2 separate regions of the Homo sapiens genome follow, and region 2 is linked to region 1. The links are contacts of gene promoters, found by promoter capture Hi-C in blood cells and fetal thymus (Javierre and others, 2016). All regions are on one chromosome and are shown on one strand. The core of a region is centred on a gene start or on the middle of the fragment in contact, and the rest is flanking DNA. Distances in the headings are between cores, read along the strand shown.

The links. The method cuts DNA at HindIII sites, captures the fragments that hold promoters and counts their contacts. A CHiCAGO score of 5 or more calls a contact.
Region 2: a contact is called between a fragment that was not itself captured here and the fragment with the promoter of PRPS2 in region 1, in 3 of 17 cell types (total CD4 T cells, monocytes and activated CD4 T cells). The highest score is 6.0, in total CD4 T cells.

The regions. Positions count from the first base shown.
Region 1 is chrX:12,786,898-12,793,413 of GRCh38, reverse strand. PRPS2 (phosphoribosyl pyrophosphate synthetase 2) reads right to left here and starts at 2,002. Exons shown (of 7, transcript NM_002765.5): 1 at 1,795-2,002. The coding sequence starts at 1,916. RefSeq lists a silencer at 1,297-1,746. The HindIII fragment of the contact is 8,457 bases long and covers 1,193-6,516 here.
Region 2 is chrX:13,493,896-13,499,830 of GRCh38, reverse strand. No RefSeq gene overlaps it. Among named protein-coding and RNA genes, the nearest start is that of EGFL6, 73 kb to the left of the region's middle. The HindIII fragment of the contact is 4,972 bases long and covers 1-4,427 here.

The DNA of each region.
Region 1 (6,516 bases), core at 753-3,252:
TTTATATTTGAACCAAATGTATAAACAATCATACTTCAGTGTCTGAGTGAGTTTTGCCCAGTGGCACATGTGGTATTTTTAGGAGAAACTCAACACTGACTTAGCAGTGAACTGATCTAGATTAACCATGCTCCTTAGCAAAAGATCATGCTGCACTGAGTACCTGGAAGGGCAACATATTTGCTTTCAAAATTTACTTCATCAACAAATTTCTCCTTTACTTATATGACGACACCTTCTGAACAAAAACTATTCTTCTTCTCGTGTTCTTACAGCGACTGAAACTTGAACAAGACTGGCAAAATACTGCAACACTCAAACCTAGCTCTATCCTTCTCCAGAGCCCTAGACCATCCTCTCAGACTTCTGCATTAAACACTGCAGAGTGGAATTCTTTAGCCAAAGTCCACCTGCCACTCATTCACAATGTTTCTTCGCTTATATTATCATCGGAGCCATAACTGGAATTTGCCACCTGGAAGAAGTCACGTAAGATTCACATATCCTAAAAAGCTGACTTGCCAAAATATAGCATCTTCCCCATCAGTATTAACATAACTCCTCCTTAAGAAATTTTTGCCTAACCCCAAGTCAAGATTTTCTGCTAGAAATTTTATAGTTCTAGATTTTACAATTAGGTCTATGATCCACTTCAAAGTTAATTTTTACAAATGGTGAAAAGTATGGATGGAAGTTCATATTTTTTGGCATATGGGTGTCCAACTGTTCCAACACCATTTCTAGAAAATGTTGGTAAAATTGAACCTTTGCCAAAGATATAAAAATTATCAGTAACTGTGGACAGTTAACGGTACTAGACATTGGAGGAAGAAGGGGGAAAAATGAGACCAATTTGAAATGAGTCAAGGAGCTGTGTGGACTCAGGCAGATAGACAAAGGAGCCCCCCAGGTCAGCTTCCGAGGATGGCCACCACCTGAGGCTCTCCTGGACTTGAGAAATGGGTGAAAGTTACAGTCGAATCACGGCGTTGTTGCTGGACACAGCAGAGTCCTAGAACAAGAAGGAAGCTGAAAGTCCATCATCTTTAAAGCAGCAAGAGTAGTGGGAGCAGAGGGGAGCCCAGCACGTGCGTCCTGGGGTTCTCACAGTCTTTCAAACCTTGGCACAACTGCACCCTCTGGATAACGCAGTGGTCTGCGCCCTGGCTGCTCAGGAGAAGCCAGGGAAGCTTGTAAAATCGCTGATCCTCCGCCCGTTGGATCAAACCCTTGGGGGCAGGTCGGGGGAAGCAGCGTTCGGACCGTCCCCAGGTAAACCCAGCGTGCAACCAGAGTTGGGGACGGGGGGAAACCTTTAGTCGCACGCACTGGTCTGAGGTTCAGCTTTGTAGGGACGCGGAAACTGGGACCAGCCAACCCAGGACGTCTCTCCACCGCGCGCTGACCCGATGCGGTTCCCGCCCGCTGCGCCCACTCTCTCCCCGACGGTCTGTGACCGCCCAGACGTCTCCCTTCCGGGCTGGGGACGCCAGGCCGGGCGGCACCGCTGGGAGGCCGGGAGCGGCTCGGGACCGCCGGGTCGCCGCGGTCCCAGGACCGGAGGCCCTGCAACCGGGGGCACAGCCGAGGCGCGCATCGGGACGCGCGGCGCCCCGCCTCGGTTTCTTCGCAGGCGCGGGCGCGGGGGCGCGGAGGCCGCGTTGCCACCGTCCCGCCCCGGAAGGGGGAGCGCGGCGTCCGCGGAGGTGGCCCGGGCAGGCGCCGGCCCCCAACCCGGCCCCGCAGCCGCGTGCCCAGCGCTCTCCCTAGCCCGGCCGCCGGCGCGGCCCCCACCTGGTCTCCTGGTTGCTGAACTTCTTCGTGACCACCTTGCCCAGCTCCAGGCCCAGGCGGTCGGCCACGCGCTGGGACAGGTCCTGATGCGAGCTGCCGCTGAACAGCACGATGTTGGGCATGGTGGGGCGCGGAACTCCGAGGGGCGCGCGGCGGCGGAGGAGGTGGCGGAGGCAACAGCGACAGCGACGCGGGAGGCTGCTGCTGCGGGAGCGGGAAAGCGCGGCGGCTAGATGTAGGGAAGGGGAGGAGCGGAGGGGGAGGAGCCGGAGGAGGAGCTAGAGGGGGCAGAGAGGGAGGAAGAGCGGGCGTGGAGGGGGAGCTGGAAAGTGCCGGGGGGCGGGGGCACAGCCCTGGCAGCAGTTTTGGACGCCCTGGGTGGTCCTGAAGCCCGAAGGTGTCCTTGCTCCGCGAGAGAGCTCCGAGCTTCATTCTTGATCTTCCAGACCTGCCTCGCGGGGAGAGCCAATGAACCGCGGTTAGCTGGGCACAGAGGGAGAGTTCGGGCCGGGGGGATCCCTCGAGGTGCTTCGCAGCCCGGAGCGACTTCCCACCCCGGAACACCGCAAACCCAGTGTGGGCGACTGGTGTTCAGCTATAGCAAGGGTCTGCAAACTACAGCCTATGGGCCAGATCGCGAGAGCTCCCTGTGTTTGTACCAGAGAGCTAAGCATGGTTTTCATACATGAACATTTGCACTTTATGTGATGATAGCAGACACCGCCTTTGAACTCCAATTAAGAGAAATATCCCCCCCGCAAAAGAATTCCTTTTCTCTCATTAATAGATGTGAGTTGCAAATAATTGTACTCAAATATTACCGTATTTTGGATTATATCAATAAAAACATTGTGACAATTTTTTCTCTCTTGTTATGTAAGTTCCTACGTAATATCTTCCCTTTTCTTGCTTGGTCTGCAAAATGTAAATATTGGCCATGTGGTCCCTCATAGTTCAAACTTGATGACCCCTGAACTACAGAGTTGCCCCTGCACCATGTGTCCTTAAAAAATCCAACCACTATGTGAGTCCTCATCACAGGCTGAGGGGAAGTATTGCTCTTGGTGGCTCACTGGATCAAACCAAGTCCCCCAGATTCACCATTTTTCGGTAGATGTGATGGTCCTTGGGGCACTTCACAACCTTCTGCCTGTTGGGTGCTCAAGGGCCTGATCCCAGGAACACAGATCTCCCTAGACAATCCAGCTCAGTCCCTCCACATCCCTGGAGTCAGGGCCTCCTTCCTCTCTTTCCTGCTAGAAACCAGCAAAAAGGTTTTCTCAAGATGCCAATGCAGTACCAGAGCCAACTTCAGGGCACAAACCAAGTGTAGGAGAAAGGAAAGCAGTCCCTGTCTATAGAGGGCTGGTTGGTGATGCTGGTCACAGTTTCACACTCCTCAACAAAGGCTGATTCAACCGGGTAGATAAATGGCTTGGTTTTACTAATGTTTGCCACGAATTGGCTCTCCATCAACAGCAAAGCCCACTTGCAATTGGGTTGTAGCCTACTCTAATCAGACTTCATAATGGGATTTGGGAGATTACAGGGATGATTCGCATCATTGGGATTTTTCATCTGGGTCCTTGTACTTTGCAAGGAGATTACTTGGCACATCGAGTGTTTCTTGTAAACTTTTGTATCTGCCAGCCTATCAAAAAGTTATTCAAACTGACAATTTTAGCAGCATTTCTGGCCCTTTTTCATTCCGCCTAGAGATGCATATGTGCCCTATTATGTGAGAAAACAAACAAAAACCCCTATCTGCAATGGTTTATTATCTATGTATTTCACAGCTAATTACCATAGCAATGAGATTTATACTTGACCCACTATGTTTAAAATTTTTATTGAGTCTGCTAATGTAGTTATATTTAAACTCTTCTAATAAAATTTACTATCAGCAAATTACTATAATTTTTATATTCTTAATATTTCTCTCATAGATAAAATTGACTAATAATGGTTTCTTCTAAATATATAGATGCTCTTCTCAAAGGGAAAGTGGCATCCTCTTAGCATGATGGGGCTGTGGTTCTTTGGTAACACAGAACCAAAGCTGATGGACTATAAAACAGTAAAAGTTAAAGCCCCTGGTCTTTGGGTGGGTAAATGGCTGCAGATTTGGAAGCTCGGATTGAATTGTGACAAACCATGGACTTGATAGCACCAAGGAGAAACAATATCTCAGTTGGGGCAACTAATACAATGATTGTTGGTTCAATAGTTTGATGAGTTACTCTGCTTAAATGCTAAATGTAAACAAGGTGAAATGTGCCATTGGGGTTGATGAGAATACTAATGGGAATCATTGAAAAATCATCATGAGTCACAGACTGTTCAGAAAGCTGTCACTTGTAAATGAGCAGCTACAGATAATTTTATTTAAGTGTGAAAACTTTCTCTCCCAAATGCCTTTATCCTTGATCCATAGGAGCCAGGTTGTGGGAAACATTGGTCTAGAGCAGGTTTCTGAACCTCAGCACAGCTGATATTTAGGCTGGGTAATTCTTTGTTGTGGGACTGTCCTGTGCATTGCAGATTGTTTAGCAGCCTCCCTTGCCTCTACCCACTAGATGCCAGTAGCACCTATCCACCACTGTGACAACCAAAAGTGTCCCCAGACATTGCCAAATGTCCTACAAGGAGCAAAATCACCACAGGTTGAGAATCACTAGTTTGAAAGAACCCCTGGCCCTTCTCTCCTCCATGTGGGCCTTTCTTCATGGTTGTTTGGGCTTCCTTACGGCATGGCTGCAAGGTTCCAAGGAGTGTTCCAAGAAGATAAGTCTCAATGAGCAAGTGCTTATCAAACCTCTGTTTTTAACTTGCTTGCTAATGTCTCATTGACCAAAGCAAGTTACATGGCCAAGACCAGCTGTCAACATGGTATGGGACAACTGGAGGGCATGAGTACTGTCCACCAACTGTCTACCACAGTGCACTTCTTGAACAACATTTGAAGTTGGGGAGCCTCTGGAAAAATGGAACACTTGTTCAAAGACCCAAGACTTAGAAGAGAAAAAGAACATATACTCTGTGCATATGTGATCTGGGTCTCAGACCGTTTATAAAATATACATTATCTTAAGATAAAATGTTAGTGGAAAAAATTAAAATGATGAGATATTTTCTATTGTTGATTTCTATCTTCATTGACTCATGGATAGAGATTAACGGTAAAACAATGATTTGAATTTATGAACAGTTTCACGTCTTCTATTTCCCACATCATCTAGCCAAGTTCTTTGTATATAGTAAGAAGTCTAAGTATTTGCTGAGTGAATTTATCCCTGACTATTTTAGGGCTGAGAAACGGAAGAAATTTCCCCAAGTCACATGGCTAGTTGAAAGCAGCAAAGGAATTAGAATGTGGATCTTCTAGTCCAGTCCTTTTCTCTCTAGAATGGTACCATCCAAAAGAAATGTAATGATTGTTTCCTATATGTTTCTATGAAAAAATTTTAAACTTTTTAAAAAGAAATATAATGCAAGCCACATATGTAATTTACACTTTAGTAGCTGTATTTTAAAAGAATATAAAAAACAAGTGAAGGTAATTTTAATAATACACTTTAATCCAATATCCAAAATATTATCATTCCAACATGTAATCAACATAAAACATATTAATGAGCTACTTTGCATCTTTTTGTGTCAAGCCTTCAAAATCCAATATAGATTTTACGCTTACAGCACATCTTAATTTGGACTTGCCATATCTGAAGTGCTCATCAGCCACATGTGGCTGATAGTTGCTGTATTAGAACAAGAAGTTCTAGAACACTAGTTCCTAAGAGCAATGCCAAGACACTCTGACATAACCTTTTTCTTGTATGTTTTTATTAGGGGTGTGGCAAATAATTTATAACTTATTATGAAATGCTAACATTTATAAGCAATGTACTTTAAAAATAAGTTAAAATAGATTCAACTTTAATTCTCTATTAATAACATTTTCACTCAGAATCAAGTAATTTTTCTGATTTTTATTTCTAGAACTTTACCTTTTACTTCTGTTGTTTAAAGAAAAATCCAAAAACCGAGATGAAAATAGAGTGAACACCGATATACCCACCACCTAGATTTTGTAGCTGTCAAAATTTTCCCATGTTTGCTTTATCTGTTTTTATCTAAAGTATTTTAAAGTAAATTACAGATGTTATATATTCACCTCTAAATTATTTAGCCTGCATATATCTGTAAAAAGATAAAGACATCACACCGTATGCAAACGTTAATTTAAAATTGATCAAAGACCTAAATGCAAGAGCTAAAACTATAAAACTCTTTTTCTTTTCTTTTTTTCTTTTTTTCTTCTCTTTTTTCTTTTCTTTTTCTTTTCTTGTTTTCTTTTCTTTTTTTTCTTTTCTTTTCTTTCCTTTTCTTTTTTCTTTCTTTTTTTTTTTTTTTTTGCAGAGTCTCACTCTCTTGCCCAGGCTGGAGTGCAGTGGTGTGATCACCGCTCACTGCAGTCTCGACCTCCTGGGCTCAAGTGATCCTCCTGCCTCAGCCTCCCGAGTAGCTGGGACTACAGGTACACGCCACCATACCAAGCTAATTTTTGTATTTTTTGTAGAGATGGCATCTTTACAAAACTACGGAATTCTTAAACTTAAAGCCTAAAACTATGGAATTCTTAAAAGAAAACATAGGTATAAATTTTCATGACTTTGGATTAGGCAAATATTTCTTTAATATGACATCAAAAGCACAAGCGCC
Region 2 (5,935 bases), core at 692-3,191, 710 kb before region 1:
CAACTGCATGGAGAAGAGCTAAAGACTTGGAACTGACAGTTGGGTCGTTTGGACCAGTTTGAGATTTTCAGCCTTGGCAGGACTGTCAGAATAATAAACCCTTAGACTCTTCACTGTAATGTTTCATGAAATAAAAGAAGAAAGTGCTTATTTTTCTTAGAAGAGAGCACACAAAGCTGAAATAAAGTAAAATTATTTGTTACTAATTGCAAAGACAAGTTCACAGTGCACTGGTTTGTGAAGAGGCAAATTTAGTATTTACCAGTTGGAAAACCTATAGAAAGTAAAAATCACTCAACACATAGAACACAGAGACATAGAGCTTTTGTTAATGACTGTTGGGAGACAATTCTCCACCGACCTTTACAGTTTTGTCTTGCTGGCAGAGGTGCTGACAACCTTTGTTCTGCACATTTTTGTCAAGGATGTTTGTATAGCATCCTTTGAAAGGTAGAAAGAACATCTACTTCCAGAACTGAGGGCAAGTTTGTTTGCTGTCAAGTATAACCAAGATAATATCTGTCTCTCAAGCAAAAGTCAGGCAGGTTTACCTACCGTCCATTGTCAAAGATTTGGGTTTCCTAAACTCAGGATTCCTCAGTTGTGATGTAAACCCACTGCATACACGGCATCTACCTGGGCCACTCTGTGTAACTCCCATGGGACTCGGGAAGTGAGAAGGATCTGATGTGAATATGAAAACTCATGCTGCTTGTAGTTCTGAGAATAATGAAGTCTCTTTTGTCTCTGACCCAAGAGTCTCATATCTTTTGCCAGAATCCATGAAACTGTGGCAGACTAACTCATGAGACTGCTAGTAGGATCAAATCTCAGATCCTTCACAGTTCTTGACTCTGACAATGCCATAGTTTCATCCATTTCCCTGACTTGCAGTTTGATATACTGGTTTGAAGTTGAGATGTGGTTTCTTTTGGAGGAGCTATGTAACAGCATGCTGGAATGAATGTAAGAGACACTAATGTCTATATTCAAGGCTCAATCATTATCAATGGTTGAAAGTGAGATGTTATGGCAGAAGTGGAAGTTAAGGCTATGAGAGTTCAGATTTAATTCATATATCTTTTGAAGAAGCATTGTAGAGTGGTTGCTAAACTTTGAATTGAGATAGACCTGGGATCAAGATCCAATTCAATAACAGCAGTGTGAGCAAGTCCTTAATCTCTGCATGTGTCAGTTTCCTGACCTGTGAAATGGGAAGACAATATAATTTACCTCTGTGGTTTTGGGGAAACATTTAACACAGGGGTGGGAAATAAATTTCTGTAAAGAACCAGGTAGTAAATATTTCAGGCTTTTCAGGGCCCCACAGTCTCTGTGGCAACTACTCCCCTCTGCCAACACAGTATGAAAGCAGCCATAAGCAATACAGTAGTGAATGGGTTTGGCTGTGTTCCAATAAAACTTTATTTACAAAAACAGGCAGTATGCCAGATTTGGCCCTTGGGCCATAGTTTGCCAGCCTGTGACATAGCAACTTACTTGGCTCACTGCCGGTATCTAATAAAGGGGTTCTTCTATGTCACCCACTATAGTTTGTATTTTTTTTTTAAATATAGATTCAGGGAACGTGCAAGTTTGTTACATGGATATATTATGTAATGGTGGGTTTTGGGCTTCTAATGTAGCCATCACCCAAATAGTGAACATAGTATCCAATAGGTAATTTATCAACTCTCATCCTCTTCCACTTCCCCCTTATGGAGCTCCCAGTGTCTATCATTCATATTTCCATTTTTAAGTCCGTGTGCACCCATTGTTTAGCTCCCACTTATAAGCGAGAGCATGTGATATTTGATTTTCTGTTTCTAAGTTATTTCAGTTAGGATAATGGCTTCCAGCTCCATGCATGTTGCTGCAAAAGACATCATTTCATTGTTTTTTTATGGCTACATAGTATGCCATGGTGTCTATGTACCATATTTTCTTTATCCAATCATGTGCTGATGGATACTTAGGTTGATTCCATAACTTTGCTATTATGAATAGTGCTGCAATAAATATACAAGTGCAAGTGTCTTCTTAATATAATGATTTACTTTGGGCAGATACCCAGTAGTGGAATTGCTGGGTGGAACGGCAGTTCTATTTCTCTCTTCACATCATATAAATCTTTCACCATTTATTATGTTGTCTGTACTTGTTACTTCACTTAATCCTTGATGAGGTAGCTAATGTCTCCTTTTTATAGACAAGGAAACTGAGGCTCAGGGAAGAGAAACAATTTGCTAAATTCCCATGACTGGGTAGTCAAGGTCAATTCAAACTCTGGCCTTCTGACTTTAAGCCATTATTTTTACCAACATCCTGTGTTACCTTTGGACAAATATCTCCATTCCTAAGAGTTTTAGAGGCAAACCTCAATTTTGTTTGGGGACAAATTCTTGTTTGTGGGTGTATGTACATGTATAAAATAAGGTTTGAATTATACAAACCAATGATCACCAAAATCCTTAATGAGATTCCAGCTACGGATTCATAGGCATTTTTAGTTGTCCTATCCACACCACCAAATCTGATATATTGCAGAGCATTTCCATCAAGAAAGAGGGGGAAGTACGCTCTACAAGAATAGTGATGAGTAGGGAAAAGAAGGTTTCCCTGTCTACTACTTGGGTTGGGAGTTTATTACTTGGAAGAATCCAAAGTGAAGTATAAACCCAGGGTCCATCTGAAGAAAAAAGTTAACATTTTCTTATGGATTCAAATATACAAGGCCCTGGCCATGGCAAAATTCTGGAAGGATGATATTGCCTGGATAATTACTATATGTCAAGCAAATTATAAGGTGAACACCAGTTAATTATCATTAGAATAAAGGTACCATCAAAGCGAAAAAAAAAGACAAGAAAAAATCCCACCAACATCTTGAGTGATTATCATTTAGATATGGAATCATAGATTATGTACATTTTTTACACTTTTTCATGCTTTCCAAATTTTCTACATGGAGAATGGGTTGACTTTACAAACAGACAAAACCAAGAAATGTCACAAAACTTATTCATGTTGAATTTGTAATAGCAAGGGAAATGATTCTGTCATGATGTTAAGGATACAAAGTGACACATAGAAATATATTTTCTCTTTGTGTAAAAATAAATCTTGGCAAAAACAAAAAAGACTAGAAGAATATTAACAGAGGTAGTATAGGGATGTAAGTCTTTTTTTTCTCTTTTTTTTATTCTTTTGTAGTTTCCAGATTTTCTATAAGGAATATATGTTATGTTTAAAACTTTTTAAAATAAATAATTTAAAAAACAAAGCTGATGCTATTAAAAAACAAAAACACACACAAAAAGCTGATTACAATTTTGGCCTCAATTGCTTCGCTTCTGCTCTGTTCATGGAGCAACTTTTGCTTCAGCATGATCCCCAGTGCTCCAGACCAATCCTGCATACAGGCAGGAATTGTCTCAGTGAGTCCCATAGTATGTTAGAGGTGGTGTGTGCGCATGCACGTGTGTGTGTGTATGCATGCACGTGTGTGTGTATGCGCGCATGCACACACGTGTGATGTTAGGGAGAAGGGAGAGTTTCTCTTTGTTGTAAAATCAGGGTTCCTATTTTTCAGACTCAAGGTGCAGTGTCCTGTTGCTTATTACTGAACTCAGTAACGTTTTCCATGTCACCACCTCCCTCCCCCATGGCATCTCCACTCTGTTAACGAACATCTTTTTCTAAACTGAGCCCAAGCCTCCCATCTGTCCCGTATCGTAGTTGTGCTTTTTTTTTTTTTGAGACAGAGGCTGGAGTGCAGCCATGCGATCAAAACTCACTGCAGCCCCCGCCTCCTGGGCTCAAGCGATCCTCCCACCTCAGCCTCCCGAGTAGCTGGGACCACAGGCATGTACCACCACACTGGGCTGTTTTGTATTTTTTGTAGAGATAGGGTTTCGTCATGTTGCCCAGGCTGGTCTCAAACTCCTGGGCTCAAATCATCTGCCCACCTTGGCCTCTCAAAGTGCTGGGATTCCAGGCATGAACCACAAGGCTCGGCCCACAGTTGTGCTTTAGTCCCTGATTCAAATCCTCCTTCAGCTGGTTTACAAAGTATCCGTGTTCCTGCCTCTTCCTGGGGTCCTGACTTACTGTTTCACAAGGTGTCCCACCCCAGGATTTAGCCCTGTCCTCAAACCCCAGCTTGCTGGCTGGGACTTTTACTCATTGCTTGACTTTACAGAAGCAGCCTGATTTTACAGTAAAACTCTTTACTGCTTCAGATTCCCAGCCACTCTGTCCCCACACCTGGCAGAACATAGTGTCTTTTGCAGGGCCATTTGTGCTGTCATCCATCTTGAATTATGCCTGTGGCTTGCCTCCCCTGACCCCACCCTGCTGAACCTTTGATGAGAACTGGCCTGCTTCCCAGTATTGATCTGTTCTAGAGCTGAGCTCTGTGCCAAGCTTCCTTCTGAGCCACCCTATTGCTGTGCCAAAGTTGCATCAGGTCTAGACATCCAAACCTGGATGGGTGACACTAGGGCAGATATAGAAAACAGAAGCCAAAGCACTGAGTCAACAGGGGTGGAAAAACTAGGGGGTCCCATGGTCACAACGGAAGTGATCCTAGAGTAATAGGCCTTGGCACTATTGCAATTTGGGGCCTGATGGTCCTTTGTTGTGGGAGTCTCTCTAATGTACTATAGGAGGTTTAGTGGCAGCCCTGGCCTTTACCCATTTGATGCCAGTAGCACCCCACTTCCCCAGCTGTGACAAAGAAAAATACCTGCAGATATTGCCAAATGTCCCGAAAGGACAAATATCACCCCCATTGAGAACCACTCATATATATTATTAAAGATTTCCCCAAATGGTTCTTCAGTTTGGACTTTGTGGACATGTTTGTTTTTAATCAAGGTTTATCAACCTCAGCTCTATTGATATCTTGGTCCCAGTAATTCTTTATTGTGTATGTTGGGGGCTGCTGTCTTGTGCACTGGAGAATGTTTAGCAGCAGCCCTGGCCTCCACCCACTAGATGACAGTTGCACCTGCCCACCTCCCAGTATTGACAAACAAAAATGTCTCCAGATATTGCCAAATATCCCCTGGGGAGCAACGCCTGGTTGAGAACTGTGGTCCCAGAGCAATGCTCACTCTTGCTGCTGGTGTGCATGGCGTGATGGGAGCAGAAGGGACTAGAAGGAAGCAGACAGAGAAGAATTTTGGAAGGGAGCCCTTCTCAACTGATTCTTTTGAAACTGAGAAATTTCAAAACAACAACACTGGTTTTTTTTTAATTGACAAACTAACAGTGAGTCTGTATTAGTGGTTCTCAACAGGAACAGTTTTTCCTCATAAGCGGACATTTGGCAATGTCTGGAGACATTTTTAGTTGTCAAAACCAGGAGGTGGGGATGCTACTGGTGTTTAGTGAGTAGGGACCAGGGATGCTACTAAGCCTTCTACAATCCACTGAACAGCCCCCACAAAAGAATAATTAGCCCCAAATGTCAATAGTGCCGAGGCTGAGAAACCCTGGTCTATATGCATGTCATTCAATTGGATTTGATTGGAAGTCTTAGTGCAATTCACCACATTTGAATTCCACTTGCAAAACAGTCTTTACAAACAATGCAGGACACTCACTCCAAGTCTGGGTGACCAGTTGTTCTACTTGTATTACTGAGGAACCAACATAGTTTGCACTGAGAATGCCAAGAGGGTCCCCAAATTGTCTACTTGATAACATACCCAACTCATCTATATGGATAATAAGCTCTGTCCCAACTTTCTACAAAGTTGTTCAAGGGCATAACTGAGGCAAGTGGCTAATTCAGAAATGTCCTGGCCGGTAGAGTTCCCTGTGAGAAGAAATCAGACCAACTTCAGGGCAGGAACTTTGTGATCATTATTTTTGGCTACCCAGAGGCCGTTCTTAGCACTGGTCACAATTTAAACTATGCCCTGGGTAG